Linked DNA regions of Homo sapiens: all the other regions are linked to region 3. The links are contacts of gene promoters, found by promoter capture Hi-C in human tissues and cell types (Jung and others, 2019). All regions are on one chromosome and are shown on one strand. Each heading gives the region's core, a stretch centred on a gene start or on the middle of the fragment in contact. The rest is flanking DNA. Distances are from core to core; before and after follow the strand shown. Region 1 holds the start of LY6H (lymphocyte antigen 6 family member H). Region 2 holds the start of TSNARE1 (t-SNARE domain containing 1). Region 3 holds the start of THEM6 (thioesterase superfamily member 6). Region 4 has its middle 16 kb from the start of LY6L. Region 5 holds the start of GPIHBP1 (glycosylphosphatidylinositol anchored high density lipoprotein binding protein 1). Region 6 has its middle 29 kb from the start of LY6H.

What was found. Contacts are between HindIII fragments. The study calls those that stand out against the background at their distance.
Region 1: a contact is called between the fragment with the promoter of LY6H here and the fragment with the promoter of THEM6 in region 3, in 2 of the 25 tissues and cell types used here (lymphoblastoid cells and mesendoderm cells).
Region 2: a contact is called between the fragment with the promoter of TSNARE1 here and the fragment with the promoter of THEM6 in region 3, in 1 of the 25 tissues and cell types used here (adrenal gland).
Region 4: a contact is called between a fragment that was not itself captured here and the fragment with the promoter of THEM6 in region 3, in 2 of the 25 tissues and cell types used here (H1 embryonic stem cells and lymphoblastoid cells).
Region 5: the fragment with the promoter of GPIHBP1 here is called in contact with the fragment with the promoter of THEM6 in region 3 in 4 of the 25 tissues and cell types used here (dorsolateral prefrontal cortex, heart right ventricle, mesendoderm cells and 1 more).
Region 6: a contact is called between a fragment that was not itself captured here and the fragment with the promoter of THEM6 in region 3, in 4 of the 25 tissues and cell types used here (bladder, dorsolateral prefrontal cortex, mesendoderm cells and 1 more).

Annotation. Positions count from the first base shown.
Region 1 is chr8:143,158,862-143,162,125 of GRCh38, forward strand. LY6H (lymphocyte antigen 6 family member H) reads right to left here and starts at 1,460. Exons shown (of 4, transcript NM_001135655.2): 1 at 1,337-1,460; 2 at 721-848; 3 at 1-61. The coding sequence starts at 1,338. It overlaps LOC124902035 (a long non-coding RNA gene), which reads left to right and starts at 1,008. Exons shown (of 2, transcript XR_007061136.1): 1 at 1,008-1,125; 2 at 1,936-3,264. The HindIII fragment of the contact is 31,387 bases long and covers 1-3,264 here.
Region 2 is chr8:142,401,805-142,404,878 of GRCh38, forward strand. TSNARE1 (t-SNARE domain containing 1) reads right to left here and starts at 1,378. Exons shown (of 14, transcript NM_145003.5): 1 at 1,300-1,378. RefSeq lists silencers at 937-1,076, 1,217-1,786, 2,227-2,276 and an enhancer at 1,508-2,283. The HindIII fragment of the contact is 11,624 bases long and covers 1-3,074 here.
Region 3 is chr8:142,725,191-142,728,472 of GRCh38, forward strand. It overlaps THEM6 (thioesterase superfamily member 6), which reads left to right and starts at 2,033. Exons shown (of 2, transcript NM_016647.3): 1 at 2,033-2,669. The coding sequence starts at 2,157. It overlaps LNCOC1 (lncRNA associated with ovarian cancer 1), which reads right to left and starts at 1,783. Exons shown (of 3, transcript NR_038925.1): 1 at 1,532-1,783. RefSeq lists an enhancer at 1,539-1,758 and silencers at 1,789-2,228, 2,529-2,778. The HindIII fragment of the contact is 14,450 bases long and covers 1-3,282 here.
Region 4 is chr8:143,094,955-143,098,347 of GRCh38, forward strand. No RefSeq gene overlaps it. Among named protein-coding and RNA genes, the nearest start is that of LY6L, 16 kb to the left of the region's middle. RefSeq lists an enhancer at 1-65. The HindIII fragment of the contact is 6,767 bases long and covers 1-3,393 here.
Region 5 is chr8:143,211,775-143,214,837 of GRCh38, forward strand. GPIHBP1 (glycosylphosphatidylinositol anchored high density lipoprotein binding protein 1) reads left to right here and starts at 1,444. Exons shown (of 4, transcript NM_178172.6): 1 at 1,444-1,545; 2 at 2,048-2,176. The coding sequence starts at 1,494. The HindIII fragment of the contact is 48,923 bases long and covers 1-3,063 here.
Region 6 is chr8:143,130,008-143,133,271 of GRCh38, forward strand. No RefSeq gene overlaps it. Among named protein-coding and RNA genes, the nearest start is that of LY6H, 29 kb to the right of the region's middle. The HindIII fragment of the contact is 7,324 bases long and covers 1-3,264 here.

The DNA of each region.
Region 1 (3,264 bases), core at 210-2,709, 430 kb after region 3:
TTTGGGGTGCAATGGCTGGAGTTGGTGGTCAGGGTGCAGTCCTGGCACCACAGGCCATGAGCTGGGCAGGGCATGGGGAGGAGGGTGACCAGAGGCACTGGGGTCCAAACCAGGCAGCCCCCTGCGCCCCCCACCCATCCCCCTGCTGCAGGCACTCCTGGGAGAGCCCGACCCCACGGGAGGGAGCAGGCCCCCATGACCCCTGGAGGGGGAGCAGAGGCCCTGGGACAACTGTGCCCCATCCTGGCAGTTTGAGGGGAGCCCCTATGGCCCCTCCCTGGCCCCCATGCACGTGCGTGCACACACACACACAAACACACACACGGGCTATACAGACCCCACACCGACAGTGCCCCCCTCACACTCCCGCCCCGCCTCACATATCCCCCCCAGAGGTCCGTGGGTTCCAAGCTGTGAAGGACCAAACTGGATTTGAAAGGAGGCCCGGGAGGCTCTCAGAGGTGACGGATGACCAAGGGCTTCCGTGCGGGGCCAGCCGCCCACCAGTTCCAGGCCCTGGAGGAAGAGCGCTGGAGAGAGCCCAGTGCCGGGGCAGAGGGGCCGAGGGCCGGGCTGGGGTCGCAGGGGTCCCGGAGGGGGCGTGGGCTCTATGCGAAGTGCGGTGGGAACCGTCAGAGGGTGGCAGCCCCACACCCGGCTCTCCCGCGGCGCCTCGGGCTCTCCCAGGCACCTGACCCAGCCCGCGGGCCCCCTACTCACCGGGCGCCGAGCACAGCAGGACGGCCAGCAGCGCCAGGCCGAGGCCCTTCATGGCTGCAGGCAGCATGCTCCGGGTGGGCCTGGGGGCGGCGCGGGGGCTTGGGGCGCGGGTCCTCTGGGGCGCAAGCCTGGAGGGGAGAAGCATCGGTCAGGAGACCCCAAAGACCCTCTCCTTTCCCAGCCTCAGGATGCAACCTTCTCCCCGGAATCCAAGGCCGGGGTCCGCCCGGAGCTCGCAGAGCCCCACCCCCAGCCCCTTCTCCAGAGCGTCCGCCGTCACAGCATCCCCGCCGGGAGACGTCTGGCCTCTGGGGCGAGGTGACAGCTCGAGACGCCTCCGCCCCGCGCCGGCACCTGTGTGGGGGAGCGGATGGGGGGCGTCCTCTTCTCCCCGGGGAGCTGCAGGTGCGTCCGGACAGGAATGAGCGGCAGGGGCGGGAGCGGGTGGGACCTGCCACTGGGGGGAGGGGCGCGTGCCAGGTCCCCACCCCCACCCCTGGGCTGGGGGGCCGGGAACCCCGGGCCGAGTCCCCTCCCTTGGCCTTCCGCGCGCGCCTCGGCGCTCACCGCGGATGGGGCGTGGAGCGCGGGCCTCGGGGTCGGGGGGCTCACTCACATCCCGGGGGTGTCCGCACTCCGGGCTCGGGCGGCGTGCGCGGCGCGGGGAGCTGTGCCCTTCGGTCTCCCTGCGGACCGGAATCCGGGCGCAGCCTCGTCTTTCGGGGAACGCAGCCGCAGACGCGGACCCCGCGCGAGGGGCGGGGCGGAGCCGGGGCGGGGGCCGCGCGGGGGGCGGGGGCGGCTGGGAGACGCGCGGGGCGGGGGGCGCCCGGGGCTCGCGGCCCCCACGCAGGTAGCTGGCCCGGGCCCTCCGCGCCCCCTTGCTGGCGCGCGCGCTCCCTCGGGTTCCCGCTCCCTCCCTCGCGGCGCCCCCTGCTCCTCCCCAGCCTCCGCGGCCCCCTACCCAGGCGTGGGCAGGATCCCTTCCCCCTCTGCTTGGCTGAGATCCCCTTGGAATTTCTCGGAAGAACGTTTACTGCGAAAGGAAGCAAAATGCACAAAGACGCAGAGAGGGGGAGGTACCCGGCGCGGCGCCACGCGCAGGTCCGGGTTCGCAGACCCCTGGGGTCAGACTCCCGCCCTGGGGCCCCGCCCTCCCCCTCCTCCCCGCCCCTCCCCAACCTCATACCCGTTTCCCCGTTTCCCCGTTTCCAGTGGCTCCAGGCCGTTCTCCTCCCCTGAGCATCCATGAAGACCCCCACCAGAAGCCGCAGCCCCAGGGGCTTCTGTCGCCAAATACTCCCACACTCGGAGGTAAAGGTACAAATCCTGGCCAGAGCATCCGAGCCTTGGACCCGTTTCTCGGCTTCCTTGGCCTTCCCGCCCTGCCCTCCAGCTCCCTAAAAGCTGTGCCTTTGCACGTGTCCCTGTGCCTGAAATCCGCCTCCCCGGGGCACTGGGGAAGCCCCGATCTGCCATCGTGCCTTTGGTCCTGCTCCCTTTCATTTGACCTGAAAATGTTTACTGCATGCTCCCTGCTGCCCTAGCCCTGCCCTGAGCCCTGGGAAAGGGCATGAGGAGAGAGACCTGGTTTCTGCCCTCCTGACTCTCCCCTTGGACAAATGGTGATGCCTACTGCAGCATATCTTTGCAGGATGTGACAGAGCTAACATTTATTGAGCATGTACTATGGATTCCACCTGTTCTAGACACTTCATATTTATTATCTCCTTATAGTCTCACCACAGCCCTGCTGTGCAGATAGTATCATTTCCATCTCACAGATGAGGAGACTCACACGGAAAGGCGGCGCTCCCTGCTCGGGGTCACACAGTGACGCAGGTGACAGGTGACCCAGCTGAAGTGGGAACCCAAGCAGCTTGGGCTACAGGGACTGCACACCTCCGCTCCATTGTGGCTCCAGAGGGGTGGAGGCAAGGACGAGATGGACAAGAGACCACCACAGGAGCGTGCTTTGCCTCAGGGTCAGGGAGAGCTTCTCCCAGGACCTGATACTTTAGCCGAGAACTGAATGAGGAGTTGAGATTCATAAGGTGCAGAGGGCAAGAGCTAGATCAAGGTTCAAACACAATTCTTTTCAAAACATACAGAGCTCGCAAGAAAGTAAAAGAAATCTGAGTCCATAAAGAAAGAAGTAAATAGAATAATGGACTCCCAAAGTCTGCCCACTGAGCAGGAGGCAGATGTGAAACTCACAGTGGTCCTGGGCAGACCTGGACCCCCACGGGGTCTGAGGTCCCGGAAGCAGAGCCTGAGGCAGGGATTCCAGAGCAAGCCCTTTGGTTGGAGGTGGGGATAGCAGCCCTGGGGAGTGGGGAAGTGGTCCAGGGTGGGGAAGGAGGCTGGCAAGCATGTGGTACTCAGCAACCCCCCGCAGTGGGGAAATGGAGCCTGACCCCAGAGAGGTACTCTGGGAAGTGGTGTAAACTGTGAGCCTCAGGTGAACTCACCCAAGGGATGAGGGAACAGGTATTTCACAGCGACACCCAAGAGTCATTGATTGAGGGCTGCCCCGAGGGATGC
Region 2 (3,074 bases), core at 128-2,627, 320 kb before region 3:
TGTCCAAACATTTGTTCTACCAGATTTCTGCTGCGGTCCTGTGATGTATGGGGTCGAACGGTATGAAAGCAGCGGTTCAGTCGGGGGAAGCACTCCAGTACTAACAAACTTCAGCTTTCTTTCAACTCAATACTGTGTCCACACTGGGAGTATCCTAAGCAACAATCCCCACCCCTGTCTCACAGGCACTAAAGATAAAACAGAAAACAAGCAGATGAGTGACAATGACAAACAAGAAATACTGTAGGGAGAGCGGTCAGAAAGGTGAGCTCAGACATACCGGAAGCGGAGCTGCCCCCAAGCCAGGAGCGAGCCAGGAACTAAAAGAAGAGGCAAGTGTGCAGCAGAGGAAAGAAAGGGCGCCAGGTGTGGCTGGAAAGGCACCTGGCAGGATGAGGGGCGGAGAAGCACCGGCGGAGCAGCACGCGCGAGGCCCATTTTGAGCCGCACCACACCGCTCACAGAACTTCCTGTGATAAGCAGTGTTCCCTACCCGCGCTGCCCCACACAGCCGCCACCAGACACGTGTGGCTACTGAGTGTCGGACATGTGACCACTGGCACGGAGGACCTGAATCCTTCACGTTAAGGACAATGTAAACAGCCACACATGCCTAGGGGCTACCACACTGGACATGGCAGAGCTTCCAGAGCAGGAGGAGTGCGCCATGAGGCAACAAACACGAGGTCCCTGGAGAGTTTCTGCGGGGGCAGCACAGATCAACATCACCTGAAAGTCCCTGGTGGGGATGTCGCAGGCCCCAGTACCCAGGAAGCACCTTCTTACAACTTGGAGAAGGGACAGAAAGGCATGGAGAGGCAAGCACACAGGAACGGGGTCCCCAGCTCAGGCTCGAAGGCGGGCTCCGCTCGTTGAGCTGCAGGGCACCAACCCTTGCACCCAGCAAGTAGGCGCTGGGGCGCTCCCCGGGACGGCACTGACCTCCAGGCGCAGGCACCGGCTGCCCGGCCCAGAGCCCACCGACCTGGGGTCTGAACAGCGCGCGAGGACCCGCCGAGGGGCTCATGTGCCCGCGGGCCGGTCCCCGAAATGCGGCGCTCTCGCGGGGCTGCGGCTCAGGGTCCCTGGCGCCCCTGGGGTCCACCCCCGGCACGGTCCCGCCCCCTCCCCTCCCCACCGGCGCGGCCCCGCCCCCCGCCCGGCCTCCCGCAAGCCCCATACCACGCCACGCCGCGGCCCCCGCCGGGCTCCGGGCCCCGCGCTGGTCCCCGGCCGCCTCGCCCTCGCCGCCCCACGCCCGGCCCCGGCCAGGCCCCAGCCCCACCGCCGCCGCCTCACCTGGGCCTCGGTGGCTCGCGGACCGCTCCGGGCGCTCACGGCGGGCGAGGCGGGCGGGGCGGGCACCCAAACATCACGTGACGGCCCCTCCCGCCGCCGGCGTGCGCGCCCCCTCCCGCACCAGCCAATGGCCGCCGGTCCCGGACGCGCGCGGGGACTACCCGCCCCAGAGGCCCCGGCGCGGAGCCGGAAGCGGCGCGGACGGCGGTCGGCTGGGCCAAGAGGCCTCTGCGGGTGCGCGCGCGAGTCGGCTGTCCTCACTTGCCTGGTGGTGGGCCTCCGTTTCCCCGTTTCCCCGTTTTGCATATGGGGATGACGGCGAAGGTGGAGGTCACGTGGAGGGCGGCGGCCCGGCGCTGAGGCGCTTCGGGAGCGGGCTCCGCCCAGCCCAGGCCGAGCCCGGACCTCACACGGGCCAAAGCTGGAGCTTCTGCGGGGCTGCGCAGGCGGCGGGTCTCGGCCAGGGCAGGGCCGGGCACCTGCGCGTCTCGCGCTGCGGGGACGGGCGTTGGGCCCCAAGTCAGGCTGCACGGGCTCCGCGTGGGGCCGTGCTCGGCCGGGGGCTGGCAGGCCCCGCGGGGACTCCGGACTCCCAGTGTCACCAACGAGGAAACTGAGTCTCAAGACATCTGAGGGACCTTTGCCCGAGGTCGCAGCCCCTCCCTGGAGGAGCTGAAGTGCAGAGTAGGGAGCCCCTTGCGGAGACCCTCCTGGGACCTCCTTCCGCAGGGGCCTGGGGCGCCTCCCTTTCCCTGCTCTGCCTGCGGGCACTGAGCTCCCGAAAGACTCCAGCCCCTCGCTCTCCCGGTGACCTGCTGGAGAAGACACCTGGGAGGAACCTGCGGACAATGGGTGTGTGTCCTTGGGCCGCCAGGGTCACCTTTCAGCCTGTTTCCCCAGAGGTGAACCAAGAGTCACACCCAAGGCAGGAGAGCAAGAGTGATGAGTCCGCTGCACCTTCTCCGGCAAGCGGAGGTTCTCCCGCCGCCCTCACTCTGTGATGCTTGCTGTGCTTGCGAGGCCTACGCCAAAGCCCTGCGGGCAGCCCTGGGCTCCCGCGGACAGCCTTGCTGAGCTCCTGGGAAGGAGGCGTGCCCTCCCCTTCCCCCACCGCCCCGCTGGCTGGGGTTCTCTGCAGCCCAGGACTGTGCATGTGTGCGCACACGGGTTCTGTGAACACGAACACAAAAGTGTGCTCGTGGACACTGCGTGGTACTGTGTGCACACAGCGCACGTCTGTGAGCTGAGGGAGTGTTCCTGGACACCAGGTGCAAGTGCACAAGTGTGTGTATGCTGGCACAAGTGTGTGCCCAGGCGCAAACATGGGAACGGTAGTATATGGCACAAATGTGTGCACACATGGGTGGGAGGGAAGAGGGGCACATGCCCACCAGCATTCCTGGGCTGGTGCTCAGGCCGGCCTGTCCTGGGCCCACCCACGCTCCTTGCCTTGGTGTATTTCAGTCTCCCCTGGGCTCCCAGGAGGCAGTAGTGTGTGCCTGTCTTGCAGCCTCGCCATGATTTGGACAGGGCTTCACTCTTCGGCTAGGACAGCTAGAGTGCAGGGAAGCCGGCTCCTAACCAGGGAGGATGCCCATGACTGCTGACCCCCCAGCTTCCACTTGAAGGGGAAGGTTCGCCAGGACCAATGCCTGTCTGAGAGCTGTCAGTCTGGACTGAGGATGCCGGGTGCCTGGCACGGTGCCCACCTCCCCTTCCGTGGCTGGCGCTGTCTGTCTGGCCGCCACCTCACTCAGCCTCCTCTGACAGCTCCG
Region 3 (3,282 bases), core at 783-3,282:
TGGGCTCAAATGGTCCTCAGCCTCCCCATGGCAAGGATTATAGAAATGGCCCACCATGCCCGGTCAACTTAACTCTTTCAATCAATTGCCAATCAGAAAATCTTTGAATCTGCCTATGACCTAGAAGTCCCTCTGTCACTTCCAGTTGTCCCCACCTTTCTGGACCAAACCAATGTCCATCCTGCAAGTATTCATTGATGTCTTATGTCTCCCTAAAATTTGTAAAACCCAGTTGCAGGCTGACCACTCTGGGTACAAGTTCTCAGGATCTTCTGAGGCCGTGTGACAGGCCACAGTCACTTAGATTTGGCTCAGAATAAATCTCTTCAAACATTGCACAGTGTTTCACTCTTTTTGTTGGCAAGGGGACAACATGGGTGACCAGGAGGCTGCATTCTTTGAGCAATGGCCAACAGGCTCAACGGCTATGTCCTCAGTCCCTTCAGCCCAAAAGGCCACCCCTCCCTGGGGCAGAGGGCTCAGAGCCCAGCTACGACAAGGTGACACTTCAGGGACAAGTGTGAGCAATGCTAGGGTGTTGGGAATAGGCCCCCAAAATCTGGCCATAAACAAAATCTCTGCAGCACTGTAACATGTTCATGATGGCCATGATGCCCACGCTGGGAGGTTGTGGGTTTACCGGAATAAGGGCAAGGAACACCTGGCCCACCCAGGGCAGAAAACCGCTTAAAGGCGTTCTTAAACCACAAACAATAGCATGAGCCATCTGTGACTTAAGGACATGCCCCTGCTGCAGATAACTAGCCAAACCCACCCCTTTATTTTGGCCCATCCCTTTGTTTCCCTAAGGGGTACTTTTAATCTATAATCTGTAGAAACTGTGCTTATCACTGGCTTGCTGTGAATAAACACGTGGGTAAATCTCTGTTGGAGGCTCTCAGCTCTGAAGGCTGTGAGACGCCTGATTTCCCACTCCACACCTCTATATTTCTGTGTGTATCTTTAATTCCTCTAGCACCGCTGGGTTAGGGTCTCCAGGACCGAGCTGGTCTCGGCACTGGGGGAGCTGCCCTGATAGGTAGTGAGCTCCCTGTCCCTGGGGCTATCAAGCAGAGCCAGGTGCCGCCCCAGGGAGCTCCTTCTTTGAGGGCGGTCCAGAACCCTGGAACCCCAGCCCAGGCCCAGGCCTGAATCCGGAGCTTGTTTAACCCAGCAATTCCGGGACCCCATCCCCGGTCGCTGGCATCCGCTGTCATTCGAGAGCCTGGGGCTGACGGGGAGAGCTGGTCCGGCCTTCTCTGGGCCGCCTTTCCTCCCCAGCCTCGTCAGGAAGGGGCACAGGACAGCCGAGCTGTGCGACAGCCCGCTGGGCCTGCGCCCCAGGGCCTCCGGCGACACTTGGAGTCCGCAGCTGAGTCACTGACTCTCACCCGGGCTCCCCCGCTTCCGCCCGGCCGTGATTTGCTCCGGTTTCAAAAGGGAGGAAGGGCGGGAATGCTCGGGAAGAGCCTGGGGTTGGCAGGACCTTTAGGGGGTGGAATGAATGTCGTGAGGGCGAGTAAGGAGGTACCGGCTGGGGCTGAAAATGCGCACGGGGACCATGAGCGTGATTCGCCCTGAGCCGCTGCGAACGCCCTGCGAGCTGGGGTGGCCCTGGAGGTCCTGGAGCAGAAGCTAGGTTCCCGCAGAGTCCGCTGCAGCGCCGCTGGCGATCGGGCTGGGTCCCATTTTCCACGAAAAGTCCCGCGGCTTCGGCCGCGGAGGTGCTGGAGCCTTTGCGCTCAGACGAAGGGCCGAACGGCCAGGGCCAGGCCGCGTCTTCAGAGCCTGGCGAGGGTCTCGCGCTGCTGGGAAGGCGGAGACGCCGGGGCGCGCGTGCACCCTCGCGCCTGCAGCGCCGCGCACGGCCGCCAGGTGCCGCTGTGGCGCTCAGCGCGCCGCCCGCCCCGCCCCAGGGAACGCGAAAGTGGCGCGGGCCTGGACGGCGGGACGGACCACGTAGGGCGCTGAGAAGGTCGCGCCACGGTGGGCGGGGCTCCGGGCCCCTCCCCCTCGGCCGCCCTCGCGCTGTGGTTCGCTCCGGGCGCGCTGCGCTCGTGAGTTCCCAGGAGGCCTGGCGGGCACCGTAACCAGCGCCGCGGACACCGGCACCGGCGCCACGGACTCCGCAGGACCCCGCGCCCGCCGCCGCCGCTATGCTGGGGCTGCTGGTGGCGTTGCTGGCCCTGGGGCTCGCTGTCTTTGCGCTGCTGGACGTCTGGTACCTGGTGCGCCTTCCGTGCGCCGTGCTGCGCGCGCGCCTGCTGCAGCCGCGCGTCCGTGACCTGCTAGCTGAGCAGCGCTTCCCGGGCCGCGTGCTGCCCTCGGACTTGGACCTGCTGCTGCACATGAACAACGCGCGCTACCTGCGCGAGGCCGACTTTGCGCGCGTCGCGCACCTGACCCGCTGCGGGGTGCTCGGGGCGCTGAGGGAGTTGCGGGCGCACACGGTGCTGGCGGCCTCGTGCGCGCGCCACCGCCGCTCGCTGCGCCTGCTGGAGCCCTTCGAGGTGCGCACCCGCCTGCTGGGCTGGGACGACCGCGCGTTCTACCTGGAGGCGCGCTTTGTCAGCCTGCGGGACGGCTTCGTGTGCGCGCTGCTGCGCTTCCGGCAGCACCTGCTGGGCACCTCACCCGAGCGCGTCGTGCAGCACCTGTGCCAGCGCAGGGTGAGCGGCCCCCGCCCCTGGCCCCGGAGCACGGCCTTTGTGGGACCTCCGGGGGCTCCTCCTAGTCCCTGGCCCCCTCCCCTAGGGAAGGCCCGCTGCCTGCACCTCTTTCGGATACTGCTGGAGTCCTGCCTCTTACCGCTCCCGCCCCTCCCTCTCTACCGGGGGCATTCCTCACTGATGCCTTTGTTCGTGGGGGTTCCTAGGGTCCCCGAATCAACTCTTCATAGTCGGGCTTAGCGTGCTTCCCTCCTGCCATTTCTTAACCTGGCCCCTCACGGTTTCGTGTTCACCCCTCTCCTCTCTCCTGGTACTCTGTTCTGTGGCTGGAGTGTTGACCTCTCTGGTCCTTGGTCCTGAATATAGGTTGGAGAGGTGATCAGTTAGAAGAGGTTCCTAGGAGTTCCCGAGGACCTGAGCCCCCCTTTCACACAGCTTAGAGCTGAAGGGCTGGGTTCTGGTCACCTGGGTTTGGGGTTGAGGTATTGAGCCGAGTAGCTGAAAGCCTTCTGGCCTTTCTGCAGTTGGAGAGAGGAGGGCCATGCACCTCCCAGGGCTCGCTCCTCCCAGCAGGGCAGAACCGCCCCTGCAGCATGGCACCTGGGGCCCTGGG
Region 4 (3,393 bases), core at 601-3,100, 370 kb after region 3:
TTGGAGACCCTGGGTAACCGGGAAGCCATGGCAGGCAGCGCTGCCCAGGCCCTGCAAGGGGGCTGCAGCTCACCCAGTGGTTAGCACCCTCCCTCCCTGATGCCCGCCCCCCTCATCTGCATGGTCCTTTGATGACCATCTCCACGTCTCATCCCCCATCTCTGTTTGGACTGGTCATGGGGCCTGCCCTCGCAGGTGAGGCTGCCTTGACTCGCTGCCTCCCCCTAACAGTGGAGGGAGAAGCTTCCTCTTGAGCCTGTAAGTCTGGGCAGGTCCAGCCCCCGTCCCCTCCCCCAGGGCCAAGGGGTGGCCAGTGCCCCGGTGTGTGCTTTCTGTTCCAGCCCAGGAGGGCGTCCCCTGACAAAGCCGCCCCTCTGTGCTGTGAGGTGGGAGGAGCCTCTGCCTGTCTACCGGCCCCAGATTCCACGCCCATCGGGGAAGCCCGGCAAAGGCACCAGCACTGGGAATGTGCCCCAGCAAACAGTGAGCAACGAGGAGGGTGAGGAAAGCGAGGAAGGCAGCCAGGACTCAGTGGCAGTGTGGACGCCGATGGCTGGATCATGAGCACCCCAGTGCTGTTCTCATGACAGAGTTCTCACGAGATCTGGGCATTTAAAAGTGTGTAGCACCTTCCCCCTCTCCCTCCTCCCCCCACCCCTCGCCCCCAGCTTTCTCCTGCTACGGCCTGTGACGCACCTGCTCCCCCATTGCCTTCCGCCATGGTTGCAAGCTTCCTGAGGCCTCTAAGCCTCTTTTCTTTATAAATTTCCCAATATTAGGTTTTGTTTTGTTTTGTTTTGTTTTTTGAGACAGAGGCTTGCTCTGTCGCCCAGGCTGGAGTGCAGTGGCATGATCTCGGCTCACTGCAACCTCTGCCTCCTGGATTCAGGCGATTCTCCTGCCTCAGCCTCCCCAGTAGCTGGCATTACAGGCACCCACCACCATGCCCAACTAATTTTTGTATTTTTAGTAGAGATGGGTTTTCACCATGTTGGCCAGGCTGGTCTCAAACTCCTGACCTCAAATGATCCACCCACCTCGGCCCCCCAAAGTGCTGGGATTACAGATTACAGGTGTGAGCCACCGCACCCAGCCAGGTATTTCTTCTTCTTCTTCTTCTTTTTTTTTTTTTTTTTTTTGAGATGAAGTTTCACTCTTGTTGCCCAGGCTGGAGTGTGGTGGTGCGATCTTGGCTCACTGCAACCTCTGCCTCCTGGGTTTAAGCGATTCTCCTGTCTCAGCCTCCCAAGTAGCTGGAATTACAGGTGTCTGCCACCACACACGGCTAATTTTTTGTATTTTTAGTAGAGACAGGGTTTCACCATGTTGGCCAGGCTGGTCTCGAACTCGTGACCTCAGGTGATTCACCCAGCTTGGCCTCCCAAAGTGCTGGGATTACAGATTACAGGTGCAAGCCACCGCACCCAGCCAGGTATTTATAACGATGTGAGAACAGCCTAACACAGACATTATATAAAGAGAAAACTGCACACAATGTTCTTTATGAACACATAAAAATCCTTCACAAAATACTTGAAAATAGAGTTCAGCAATATATACAAATAATTAAAGACCATGACCAAGTGGAGCTTTATTCCAGGGATGCAAGTCTGGTTCAATATCCAAAAGTAATCAATGTAGTTCATCCTATTAGTAGGCTAAGGCACAGGTATACATATGTAACAAACCTGCACATGGTGCACATGCACCCTAAAACTTAACGTATAATAGTAATAAAATAAAATAAAATAAAATAAATAGGCTAAAGAAGAAAAATCACATGACCACGTCAAAATGCAGAAAAAGCACCTGGCAAAATTCAACATCACTCATGATTTAAAAAAAAAAAAAAAAAAAAAACAACTCTCAGAAGAAGAGGAATCAAGGGGAACTTCATCAACTTGATAAAGATCATCTACAAAACACCCTCAGCTCACACGCTTGCTAATGAAAGACTAGATGCTTTCCCCTAAGATCAGAAACAAATGAAGAGCATCAGCTCTCACCACTAGCGTTCAACACAACACAGTGCTGGAAGCTCTGGCCGGTGCACACAGCAAGACAAGGAAACCCTCGCGTTCAACACAACACAGTGCTGGAAGCTCTGGCCGGTGCACACAGAGAGACAAAGAAACCCTCGCGTTCAACACAACACAGTGCTGGAAGCTCTGGCCGGTGCACAAAGAGAGACAAAGAAACCCTCGCGTTCAACACAACACAGTGCTGGAAGCTCTGGCCGGTGCACACAGAGAGACAAGGAAACCCTCGCGTTCAACACAACACAGTGCTGGAAGCTCTGGCCGGTGCACAGAGCAAGACGAAGAAACCCTCGCGTTCAACACAACACAGTGCTGGAAGCTCTGGCCGGTGCACACAGCAAGACAAGGAAACCCTCGCGTTCAACACAGTGCTGGAAGCTCTGGCTGGTGCACAGCAAGACAAGGAAACCCTCGCGTTCAACACAACACAGTGCTGGAAGCTCTGGCCGGTGCACACAGAGAGACAAGGAAACCAAAGGCATACACATCAAAAAGGAAGACACGCCCTTGTCCCATAAGCAGATGACTTTGTAGCCCACTTAAAAAATCGTAAGGAATCTGAAATAAATAAGAGCGTCCTAGAACTAATCAGTGAGTTCAGAAAGGTCACAAGAAAGAAGATAAACGTTTGAAAAATCAATTGTATTTCTATGTAGTAGCAGTAAACACATGGGCATCACAATGAAAAATATACTTCTATTTTTAACCACTCAAAAAATGAAGTACTTAGGTGTAAGTCTAACAAATAATGTGCTGGACTTTGTATATGTGTTTTGTACACAGAATTCTGATGAAAGAAAGAAGACGAAGAAAGTAAGTGAAAAGGCGTGCCTTGCTCATAGAGTGGAAGACTCAACATCGTGAAGTGGTGAATTCTCTCCCCAGACTGATTTATGGGTTTAACACAATTCTTATTGCGTCTAACAAAATTCCAAAAAGATATGTCATGAATAAGTACAAGATTATTCCAAAGGATAGATGGAAAGTGATGGAGCTAGAATAGCTAAAATTGGGTAATTTTTAAAGGAAAGAAATTTAATGCCTGTAATTCCAGCACTTCAGGAGTCCAAGGTGGGTGGATCACGAGGTCAGGAGATCGAGACCATCCTGGCTAACACAGTGAAACCCTGTCTCTACTAAAAATACAAAAAATTAGCTGGGCATGGTGGTGGGTGCCTGTAGTCCCAGCTACTCGGGAGGCTGAGGCAGGAGAATGGCGTGAACCTGGGAGGCGGGGCTTGCAGTGAGCCGAGACCGCACCACTGCACTCCAGCCTGGGTGATAGAGCGAGACTCTGTCGCAAAAAAAAAAAAAAAAAAAAAGAAGAGGCTTAATTTGGAAAAAGAGAAAAATG
Region 5 (3,063 bases), core at 194-2,693, 490 kb after region 3:
GAAGGGCGGGGCGGGGCGGGGCGGGACGGGGCTGGGGGGGACAGGCATCAGGTATGAAGAGTTTGGGGCTGGCGGGGCGTGTCCGGCTGTGGCGTGGGCACCACTATGGGAGACCCTGGCTTGGCAAGTGACCTTGCAGCCTTGGCTGGGGAAGGGCTAGATGCTGGGTGGGTGCCGGTAGAGTGGAAAGAATGACAGGTTCAGGTGAATTAAGGAAGGATGGTTGACTCGGTGGCTGGGACATTAGAGACAGGTATTCCCAGCCTCAGGCGCTGTCCTAAGCCCAGCAGGTACTGACCCTTGATGGTCACCTCACCCTATGAGGGAGCTGAGGCCTGGGGAACCCAAGGGGCTAGTCCAGAACCCACAGCCGGGGGAAGGAGGAACCGGGTCTTAAACCCAGGTAGCTCACTCCAGAACCAACTCAACCTCTGTTACAGGTGGCCGGCCAGAAAATGCCCCACCCCACCCATTGACAGTCGGGGAAACTGAGGCCTCAGTAGGTGAAGTGCCTGGCCCAAGCACCAAGGCACACAGAGACGCTCAGGCTTGACCCTGGCTCCGGACGTCCAGCCCCTGCCGCTGCCCCACCCCTCTGCTGCCCTTGGGAGAGGGGCAGCTCAGAGCCTCGACTCTGCACTCTGCATCAGCACCCCCCAAGGGCTTGGGTGGGGTCTTGAGAGGAGGGGGTGGCCTCAGGGAGCGACCTGGGCTTTCCAAGCCTCTCCCAGAGCAGCCCGTCTCTCACACAAGGCCAGAAGGCAGGTGGGTGCTGATGGCTTTCCCAGCAAGAGACCGAGGGGGCGGGCCCCCAAGAGCTCCAGAAAGCTCTCCACCGGACACCAGCAGGAACAGCACTGCAGATGGAGCAGCAGGGGCAAAGACCCGAGGTGATAGTGAGGGGCAGCCGGGAGGCCTTGGGCCTAGCAGTGCATTGCTGAGTGTGGGTGAGGAGGAGGTGAGCACGCAGCCTTAGCTTGAGGGCATTGACTGTGTTTTTACTTAAATGCTCTTAAAGGGGCCTGGGTGTGATGCTGACTCTAGGATGACGATGCTTGGCCAGTGACCAGCAAATAGAGGGTCTGTGACCCCAAGGTCCTGTGACTATGGAGCCCAGACATGGGGTTGAGGGGTGTCAGGCATGGCCCATTCCGGGGCGAGGCTCCCTGCCCTGCACTGCAGGGCTGAGGCACTGAGCGGCAAGCCAGGCGAGGGCCAGCACCACCTTCCACCTGCCGTGGCACGGGTGCACAGGACGTTCCAAGGCCAACCACAATGACTTCTCCTTCCCCTCTGGCCCCAGATGTCCTGGAGGGAAACAACAGTCCCTGGCCTGGCGCCTGGAGCTGGGGACCAGTGTGAGGCCCATTGTTTGAGGCTGGAGCTGGTGGGGGCCACTAGGAAGCCCACGGCAATGCCCTTCATCCCACTTACCGCAGCTCCAGAGCCCTGCGGGAGGACTCAGAGTCAGGGACACAGCAGCGTCCGGCGAGATGAAGGCGCTCGGGGCTGTCCTGCTTGCCCTCTTGCTGTTCGGGCGGCCAGGTGCGGGGCAAAGGGTAACCCTGCGGTGAGGGGGCAGCAACAGCAGTCCTGGAGCACAGGGACCTCCAGGGACCCCCAGCAGGGGCTTAGGAAGAAGGAGGGGATGAGGCTGGAGTCCCCAGCCCAGAGCAGCATGGATGGAAGCTGGCCTGGGTCCCCGAGAGTCCCCAAATATCTGCGCCCCTGTTTATGTGGGGTGCGGGGAGGGGCTACCATAAAGGGCCAGCCCACAGCAGCTGCTGTTGTAACTACAATGCCAGGGCACACTCGGCTGCAGGACAGTGAGTAGGGTGAGTAGGGTAGTAGGACAGTGAGTAGGGTGAGTAGGCTGCAGGACAGTGAGTAGGGTGAGTAGGGTGTTCAGGGTAGGGGCCCTCCCCAGCCACCCTGGGGCCCGAGGATGGCTGGGGAGGGCCAAGGAGTTGGGGGCACGATGCTTGCCCAGAGCAGGTGTCCTCCATACCCGGGTAGCTGAGGCTTACAAGCATCCCTGCACGGCCAGGGAGAGGGCAGACACAGCAGGAGGAAGAGGAAGAGGACGAGGACCACGGGCCAGATGACTACGACGAGGAAGATGAGGATGAGGTGGAAGAGGAGGAGACCAACAGGCTCCCTGGTGGCAGGAGCAGAGGTATGGCCGCCCCAACCCCAGAGCCCTGCTGCCTGATCTGCCTGGAGCATTCTGGGCGGGGCTGTGTGATGGAAGCCAGCAGGCCACAGTCCTGCTGTGAGCTTGCCTCCAGCAGAGTGGGGGACACTCAGTACACCCCTCACTGCTGCTCACCATGACACTCAGTTGCCTTCCAGAGTAGGGAACAGGGGAAGAAGCCACCAGCTGGGAGGGTCAGTGGTGCCAGGATGTAGAGGTTAAATAGGAGTTCACCAGGCAGAGAAGGGCTCAGTGGGGGCCTAGGGTGGAGACACAAGCACAGAGGCCCCAGGGTAGGGTTCAGTTTTGTGGGGCAGAGAGAGCAGCAGGGTGGGCCGGTCCTGTACAGGGGAGGGCTGGATTGGCTGCTGCGGGCTGGGGAGCCAGGGAACCGCTTAGAGCAGAGCAGAGTAGGGCTAAGAAGAGCCCACCCTCACTGCCCACCTGACACACCCCTACACGTGGGCCACCCTCTGCTCTCTCCCATCCCGAGAAAAGCAGAGCAAATCGCCGCATCCAACCCGAGGGCCGGCCCCTCCCTAGCCAGGGACCACAGCGTGCCCCACCACACACAGCCCCTCCCTAGCCAGGGCCCCCAGCATGCCCCACCACACACAGCCCACCCCCCTCCCAGGAGCCCCAAGCCTGCCCTCAGCACGAGCCCTGCCCCACACACCCACGAGGTGTCCCCTGTGAGGCCCTCCTCTGCCAGGCCTGGTGCTCCTGGAGGCAGGACTGAGTCAGACCCACCTCCAGGTTTCTGTGACCACGGCAGGAGCCTGGGCAGCATTGTCGCAGGACGTGAGTGATGATGGGAAGTTCGCCCTGCCTGACCCGCAATCCCTTGCCCCCTAAACACACAGGCTCAC
Region 6 (3,264 bases), core at 705-3,204, 400 kb after region 3:
GCAGGCCGAGACACAGCACCACAGGGCTGTGCCGGGTGCCTGCTCGAAGGCAGAGCTGCAGTGGGGGATCCAACAGGAACCGTGGAAATGGGGGGCTCCTGCAGGCAGGGGGATACCCACAGGGTCCCGTGATCCTGCAGGGGTGCAAGTGGCTCCTTCCGTGATGGCCCTAGAGCAAGAGGGTAATACTCTTGCCACCTCTCCCAGACCTGGGGCCAAGTAAAGGCTGATGATAAAGAAGCCAGAGGTGCTTTTCCCAGAGATGGGAATCGGATTCCTGCTGACTTCACCTGAGTAATTCAGAGCACGAGGGAAGCTGCACCTCCAGGGGCGCTCCTGACAGGTAACCCACTGGAGCTGCTATTCCGCAGCAGAGGCACCAGCCAGAAAGATCCGAAAGAAACATTTTCAAAAGTGGACCAAGATGGCTGCAGTTTGGCCACACGGGTAGTAGGAGGCAGGCCTGGCCTATGAGGCTGGAATCTGCATTGTCTCACTGACGTGTCCTGGTCACTGCCGTGCCTGTCAGATGAGGCAGGACAGAACAGTCGCCCCTGCAGACCCTGAGGCTCCAGTAGGTGCCAGCTTTCCACCCTGTGTGCCAGCCACGTGTCCACTCCACCTGTGTACAAGGCACCGAGGCCAGGCAGGACTGCGAGGTCCCCCTGAGCGCACTGCCCCTCTCAGGCTGTGGAACCACCCCTCCTGCCTCCTCAGCCGATGGAACCTGTGTTCCGGGTTGCCACTCACTCTTGGCTCAGCATAAAACGCACTTTGGCTTCTCTAAGTCTGCAGTGCCCATGAGTGCGGCCTCCAGCCGTCGCTGCCGTCTGCCCCTCTCGGAGGACAGATGAGAACAGTGCAGGGATCCCAGGGTGGGGAATGCCCAGGAGCCTGGCCTCCACTCTGGGGTGACCCCGGACCTGCCAGGCGCTGCCTGCATGTGGAGGGGGCATTGCTGCCTCCTCCCTGCCTCAGAGCTTGATCTGCGAGTCCGAACGTGCCAAGTGTGAACCAGCCCCAGCGATCTCCAGGCAGAAACAGATGCATTGGTCTCATGAGGGTTGGCCCCACCCTGCTGAAGGTTTGGGGAGATTTTAGAATTTGGTCTTGGGGCCCTGAGTGCGGCAGAAACAGTGTCCCTGCACGCTCATCATGAAGAGCAGGAGGCTTGTTATCCTGAGTAGGGACAGCAGAGGGCGACCTCTTCCAGGATCCAGACACAGGCCCGGGAGGCTGTAAAGGCCACTCATACGGGAATCGATGGAAATCGGACACCCGTCCCCAGCCCTGGGCCAGTGTGCATCCTTCCTCACCCAGGAGGGGCTACTGAACACTCTCATCCCTGGCATCTGATGCTGTAGAGGTCAGAGGCCAGGTCGGGGCCGGGCAGTAGCCTGAGTCCTGAGGGAGCAGTGCTGACAACGGCCCCTCAACCCATCGCTGTTCTCCCGCAGCCTGAGTGCCACCAATGTAAAAGGACAGCTGTGTGGGCCGCATGTGCCCGGAATGAGGCCCCCTGCTCCCTCAGCCGCGTTCTCATGGGTGAACAAAGACCGTGATGGAACCCACCTGAGCCCCTGAGCCGGCTGGACTGGATTATCCTCCCTATGCGTGGATAATCAGAGCCGGGATTATTCCCCTTAAATATTCCTCTTCCCACTGGCAGTTCTGATTCTCTTTGGACAACTGTTAGGAAACTGAAAAACCTAACAGTGTGTCCTCCTTTCCTGGCCAAGGAAGAAACCACCGTTTAGCTTCTTCATGCCCCAGCCAAAGAGCAGGCGATGGAGGCCCAGAAAACCAACCCCACGCTGTCTGACACAGCTCTCGAGACCCGGTCATCTAAGGCAGCTGTTTGCAAGGCTCTCCTGGGCTGCACCTGCCACCACTTCTCACAACCCACCTTAGCTCCAGTCTGCAGAGCCCCTGCGAAGGCTGAGTTAGAGAACGCTGAGCCCCTGCTGCTAGCAGACACACAGGGTTAGGGTCCCGCAAGCCTCTGGCTCCGTTTTCATCAGCCGATCAATATATCATCTCATTCTCTGTGTTTCTATTTAAAGATCCCTTACTGAATGCACGTGGTGGCTTCATTAACATTGCAATCGGTGCCAAGCACCGTAAGCCTGGACAAAGCTTCTCTGACCCAGGCATTCCTTGCCTAGGACGTGAGGCAGCACCTCGGGACAATGCTTGGGGACATTGCAAACAGCAAAGTCACCCACAAAAAGCACAAAAATGCAAAAAAAAAAAAAATGGCACCAGATAGACCACGAAAAGGGCTCTTGATTGCAGCACAAGCTGGAGCAAGAAGGCCGCCCTGCGCAACCTCAGCCAAGAACGCACTCCGGTGACTCAGAATTGTCGCCGCTCCGTGCAAGTAAGTGTTTGGGGATTACAGCTTCTTTTTTTTTTTGAGACGGAGTCTAGCTCTGTCGCCCAGGCTGGAGTACAGCCGTGTGGTCTTGGCTCACTGCAACCTCCACCTCCCATGTTCGAGCGATTCTCCTGCTTCAGCCTCCCAAGTAACCACCACGCCCAGCTAATTTTGTATTTTTAAAGTCACGGGGTTTCACCATATTGGTCAGGCTGGTCTTGAACTCCTGACCTCGTGATCAGCCCACCTCGGCCTCCCAAAGTGCTGGATTTACAGGTGTGAGCCACCGCACCTGGCCTTACAGCTACATTTTAGCAAGTAGAAGAATCGCATACAGACTCCAGGAATGACAAGGATGGACTGTTAAGGAAATCTCAGTGGGGCACAGCACAGCGGAACCCTGGCACTTCCAAGAGTGCTTTTCAGGACACCAGCCAGTCCTTGCACACCAAGGTCACGAAGATAATTAACATTTGGAATAATTAATATCTAGAAAATGATTAGGAGCATTTACCAACATTAGTCTTAATATTTTTTACTATTTAACCCATCTCCCTTCTTTCCGGACACACTCAGCCACACCAGCTGTCCCTTGTTGAGACTTCTCCTGGATCAGGATGCCGAGCGTCTATCTCGTGTCCATTATAATTTTACAAAACGCACCTGTGCAGCCCTCCCCAGCCCCACCGTCGCCTGGCATCAGCACCCAGGGTCTCCAGCCCACTCCACTCTTCAGACTGGATCCGCAGTGACCTTTCTGAAATACAGATCAGGTCATGCCACTGATTAAAACCCTTCAATGGCTTCCCCAGTGCTTCCATTAGTCACCAAACAGTCCAGCCGCCCTGCAAAGCAGCCAGCACTGGGGACCCCTGTGGCTCTGTGCT